Linked DNA regions of Homo sapiens: region 2 is linked to region 1. The links are contacts of gene promoters, found by promoter capture Hi-C in human tissues and cell types (Jung and others, 2019). All regions are on one chromosome and are shown on one strand. The core of a region is centred on a gene start or on the middle of the fragment in contact, and the rest is flanking DNA. Distances in the headings are between cores, read along the strand shown. Region 1 holds the start of SIGLEC6 (sialic acid binding Ig like lectin 6). Region 2 overlaps SPACA6 (sperm acrosome associated 6).

Evidence for each region. Contacts are between HindIII fragments. The study calls those that stand out against the background at their distance.
Region 2: a contact is called between a fragment that was not itself captured here and the fragment with the promoter of SIGLEC6 in region 1, in 1 of the 25 tissues and cell types used here (spleen).

What each region holds. Positions count from the first base shown.
Region 1 is chr19:51,530,420-51,533,418 of GRCh38, reverse strand. It overlaps SIGLEC6 (sialic acid binding Ig like lectin 6), which reads left to right and starts at 1,749. Exons shown (of 8, transcript NM_001245.7): 1 at 1,749-1,837; 2 at 1,900-2,259; 3 at 2,460-2,738; 4 at 2,935-2,982. The coding sequence starts at 1,771. The HindIII fragment of the contact is 9,007 bases long and covers 1-2,999 here.
Region 2 is chr19:51,696,492-51,699,191 of GRCh38, reverse strand. The region is part of intron 2 of SPACA6 (sperm acrosome associated 6); the gene reads right to left. Among named protein-coding and RNA genes, the nearest start is that of SPACA6-AS1, 4.4 kb to the right of the region's middle. The HindIII fragment of the contact is 6,273 bases long and covers 1-2,700 here.

The sequences.
Region 1 (2,999 bases), core at 500-2,999:
CAGGAACTAAAAATAGAATTACTATTCGATCACTCAAGCAATCCCACTACTGGGTATCTACCCGAAGGGAAAGAAAGAAATACATCAAAGAGATACCTGCATTCACATGATTTTTGCTGCACTATTCACAATATCAGAGATATGGAACCAACCTAAGTGTCAATTAACAGATGAATGGATAAAGAAAATATAGTATACATGCTATTTGGCCATAAAAAAGAATGAAATCGTGTCATTTGCAGCAACATGGATGGGACTAGAATTCATTATCTAAATTGAAATAAGTCAGACACAAAAAGACAAATGTTGCATGTTCTCACTTACATGTGGGAGCTAAAAAAATATTATCACATGGAGGTGGACAGTAGAAAGATAGACAACAGAGACTGGAAAGGGTCAGATGGGGGAGGACAGAAGATGAAGAGAAGTGAGTGAAGTGCTACAAACATACAGTTAAAAGGAATAAATTCAGCGTTAGAGAGCAGAATAGTGTGATTTTAGTTAACAAGAATGTATTGCACTCACGTGACGGACACTCTAAATATCCTGACATAATCATTACGCATTATATACATGCAAAAAAATTTTACATCTACTCCTTAAGTTTGTAGAAATAAAAAAATTTACAAATATATGGTGGCAAATTCTAATACCTCATAGGTATTAGAGATTTGCCAGATGCATACTGCACAGAGGAAAATAGAAAACCATGTGAGCTAGACCTAAAAATTTTAATTTTGTCAGGATATTCTGCTCACGTTGTCCAGAAATATGTCTTTTGTGCCACATTTAACTGTGAGAAGCAGATTTTTCACAGGAAAGAAATTGCTAATCTCTATGATGAGGACCTAAAAAAAAATCTCTCCAGTCCACACTGCACTGAGTGGCAACATTAATTCAAAAGAAGTTTCTTCTGCACTGCAGTTCATAAAATATGTGTCCTTTTTGATTTACATGAAGATGTTGCATGGTTCTTATTTTGGAGATGTCATTGAAATTTTGTAAATCAGCGTACTAGCTGTCAAGGAAAAACCTCCATACTCATGTTTTAAAAAATATCTGGCATTCTACTGTGTCACTTGGCAAACTCACCAGTGTCCACAGCTCTAAAGCTAGATAGTGAGGGTGTGTGCTGAGGATGGGAAGCTATGGATGGGGATCATCTCAAGGGTAGGGACCAGGTCCCTGGCATCTCTTCTCCAGCCCGACCTACATACAGATGCTCACTATGTCTTTGGTGAATGAATGAATGAATGAATGAATGAGTGAATGAATGAGTGGCTATCACCCACACTGCACCTGGGACCCTTCTTCCTTTCACTGTCCCAGACACTCCCACAGACCCTACAGAATCCTATATCCTGCAGGACTGACTTTCTCATGGCGTGGGATGAGGCTGTGACTCTCTGGGGCCAGGAGTGACCAGCTCCCAGGTGTAAACAGTGGTGCACAGAAAAGCACCTCAGGTGGGCAGGGCCTTGGACACAGGTTTCGCATTCCTCAGATGCCCCGGGAGGCCCTGGTCCGGGCTCTGTTGCTCACAGGAAGCCCCGAGGTGGGAGGCGGGACACAGTCTCTTCTCCTCTGCTCTTCTTTGGGCAGGTCTCTGGGTCTCAAAGTTTCCGTCTGCTCTGTGCAGAGGGAGTGGAGCTCCGAGGGCTTGTGGCTTCGCAGTTCCTCTTCTGTGAACAGCCGAGATCACGCGCTCCTCCCCAGCCACCCGTTCCTCCCCGCAGTCCTTCCCCTCCACTCCCTTCCCCTTCTCTGCTCATGCAGGGAGCCCAGGAAGCCTCCGCCTCAGAGATGCTACCGCTGCTGCTGCCCCTGCTGTGGGCAGGTGAGTGGGCCAGGGGAGAGGTGCCGTGGGGCTGGGCCGAGCTGACCCTCATGTCTCCATAGGGGCCCTGGCTCAGGAGCGGAGATTCCAGCTGGAGGGGCCAGAGTCACTGACGGTGCAGGAGGGTCTGTGCGTCCTCGTACCCTGCAGATTGCCCACTACCCTTCCAGCCTCGTACTATGGTTATGGCTACTGGTTCCTGGAAGGGGCTGATGTTCCAGTGGCCACAAACGACCCAGACGAAGAAGTGCAGGAGGAGACCCGGGGCCGATTCCACCTCCTCTGGGATCCCAGAAGGAAGAACTGCTCCCTGAGCATCAGAGATGCCCGGAGGAGGGACAATGCTGCATACTTCTTTCGGTTGAAGTCCAAATGGATGAAATACGGTTATACATCTTCCAAGCTCTCTGTGCGTGTGATGGGTAAGGAACCAGCTCCAGGACTAGCCACAGGGGAAGGTCATGGGGGCCGTAGGGCAGGGCTGGGACGGGAGCCCCGTCTTGGGAGGCGGGTACAATTAAGCATGTTGGGCTCAGAGAAGGAGCTGGACCAGAGACTGGGCTTCCCCCTGGGTGAAACCTCAGACCTCCATCCTGATCCTGCGTCCCCATCTCCTCACCAGCCCTGACCCACAGGCCCAACATCTCCATCCCAGGGACCCTGGAGTCTGGCCATCCCAGCAATCTGACCTGCTCTGTGCCCTGGGTCTGTGAGCAGGGGACGCCCCCCATCTTCTCCTGGATGTCAGCTGCCCCCACCTCCCTGGGCCCCAGGACCACCCAGTCCTCGGTGCTCACAATCACCCCACGGCCCCAGGACCACAGCACCAACCTCACCTGTCAGGTGACGTTCCCTGGAGCCGGTGTGACCATGGAGAGAACCATCCAGCTCAATGTCTCCTGTGAGTGCTGGGCCAGGACGCCCGGGTCCCTGAGGGTGTGGGGGGACAGGGCAGGGCTGAGCCAGAGCTTAAAGTTGGGGACCTGGTTGCCAAAGAGGAGAGCCCCTTTCCCTGTTTTCATGGCTCCTGAGGGGAAGGCCCCATGCCTACCATCCCTCCTCAGGGATGTTGAGGCGGCCACCTCTTTCCACCCCAGATGCTCCACAGAAAGTGGCCATCAGCATCTTCCAAGGAAACAGCGCAGGTAGGAACCAGCCAGTC
Region 2 (2,700 bases), core at 120-2,619, 170 kb before region 1:
AAACAAATTTTTATAAATTAGCCAGGTGTGATGGTGTGCTTGTAGTCTTAGCTACTCAGGAAGCTGAAGTGGGAGGATGGTTGAGCCCAGGAGTTCAAGGCTGTAGTGAGCTATGATTGCACCACTGCCCTCCACCCAGCCTGGGCAATAGAGCAAGACCCTGTCTCTAAAAAACAAAGACAGAGAAGGTGGTGCCATCTTATTGTTCCCCTCATCCATCCTGCTGCCTGAAAATTTGTTTTGATGGTTGGAGCTCTAGCAGCCACACGGGACCATGAGGACAAGGGCTACTCCCTGGGATATTAAGTCTTGAAGGAGCTTGGATCCCCAAGAAATGGAGGTGCCATATTAGCCTTAAGTGCCTACCACAAGACTTACTTTATATAGGAGAGCTAAACTTCCTACGGGCTTAAAGCCATTGCAGGGACAGGGGAAAGCGTCCTCTGTGATTAAAGCCATACAAAAAGGGAGGGAACTGAGGATATTGGCAAGAAAGTGCCTAAAACAATGATCACTGGATATACACTTGGAGAGAGGAAGCACTGATGCCCAGAAGTGGGTTCCAAATGAGGACCCAGTGGTCTCTCCTTGGCCACAGAGCAGGAGTGTGGTCTCAAGATGGCAGGATGATCAGGAGCATGTGGTCAGACTGGGGTGCACAAATGAGAGGCCAGGATGTTGGAGGAGTCATCCAAAGAATTTCTATGTGCCAAATCAAATGACTCATGGGCAGGGTGAGCGTGGGATATACCAAGTAAGCCATGGTGGCCGGGTGGGCTTATACTCCACCAGGGGAGTATAAGTGGAGTGAAATGTTCCGAACAGGCCAAGTGGCCTGGGTTATAGCAAGCGGGCCATAAGGCGGCATGGGTGGGTGTTGTAAAGTCTCCCCCAGAGGAGTTGCATATCGTCAGGAGCTCTGACCCTGGTTCAGATCATCTGGGTCTGAGTCCTGGTGCTTCCGTCTTGAGCACACCTGTCTCAGATCTGAGTATCAATCACAAGCCCTCCTCCCCATGCGACCTTGGCCAAGTGACTTCACCTTCCTGATCCTCAGTTTCCTCATTCATCAAATGAGGATGACAGCAGTGTCTGTATCACAGAATTAGCGGGAGGATGAGACGCCATACAACCATGAAAGCATCCTCATCCCCACTCTTCCATGGCATCGTTTAATGATTGTATGAGATGGTGTCACTAAGTGTGTAGAATGGCTCCTAGCACGTAGTGAGTGTTAGAGAAGGCTGGCAAACTTAGGATTGCCATCTCCAAGTTTGAGGTGGGGAAACGGAGGCATGGGGAGATTAGAGAAGTGGTCCAAAATCACATGGCTACATTTGACCCTGGTGGTCAGGCTCCAGAGCCTCCACACCTAATCGCTGCATACATAATCTCCACACCTAATACTGCATCCAGTCTGTACCACGTCATCTACTCCATGGTTTATATATACATATATACAAATAAGATCACCTGGGATCACCAAGAGGCAGTCAGCCTACATCAGCTCCTCCATCTCCCTGCTGCTCCCTCTGGAGGAGACGCAAAAGTCATCCTTGATTCTTCCCATTGCCCTCACCCACCTACATCTGGTCCAGTCTATCTCCAAATATATCCTGGGCCTACTGTTCTTGTCCAGAAGAGCCCAGCGTTCCCTTCTGATAAGCGGGGCTATAAAACCCAGCCTCACAGGGCCGGTAGAGGATATCCTTTAGGAAGATACTTAATATGAATGACTCTGTGTATGGCAAACACAGCCTTTTGCACGCATGGGCAAGCCTGGCACACGGTCAAATCCTTATGCCCACCCCACTCTGCTCAGACCTCATCTGGGCCCCCGGACCACTGTGACTGGTCCAAGCCACCATGGGCCGGCTTCTCACTGGAAGTCTTCCTGCCTTTGTCCAGGCCCCATACAGCTGCCAGAGAGATCTTGTTAAATCCCAGGTCAGATCCTGTCTCTCTGTGTAAAGTCCTCCAACAGCTCCCCCATTTCAAGAGCAAAAAACAAAAGTCATTCCAAGGGCCTACAACAGTGATTCTCAAAGAGTGTTCCCGGAGCAGCAGCATCAGCATTCCCTGGGATCTTGACAGAAACGTCCATGTCTGGGCCCTACCTTGGACCTCCTGGTCAGAGGTGGTGAAGCCCAGAAATCTGCATTTTAAATAAGCTCCCAGGGGATTCTGATGTATGCTGGGGCTTGAGAACCCCCTGTCTATGAGGATCTACAGGAGGTGGCCCCTTGCTATCTCTCTGATTTCACCTTTACTCCAGCCCCACGGGCCCCAGGGTCTTGCACTGGCTATTCCCTGTGGCCTGAAAATCTCTTTCCACAGATTATCTGCATGGCTGTCGCTGTCACTGTCACCTTGCTCAGGTCTTTGCTCAACTGGACCCTGTCATTTCCACCTGCCCTGACCAACCTATTTAAAATTATCACCCAGCCAGGTACGGTAGTTCATGCCTGTAATCCCAGCACTTTGGGAGGCTGAGGTGGGAAGATCACTTGAGCCCAGGAGTTCAAGACCAACCCATGCAACATAACAAGACACCATCATTACAAACTATTTAAAAAATTAGCCAAAGATGGTGGCGCACACCTATAGTCCCAGCTACTTGGGAGGCTGAGGCAGGAAGATCGCTTGAGCCCAGGAGTTTGAAGCTGTAGTGAGGTATAATCACATCACTGCAATCCAGCC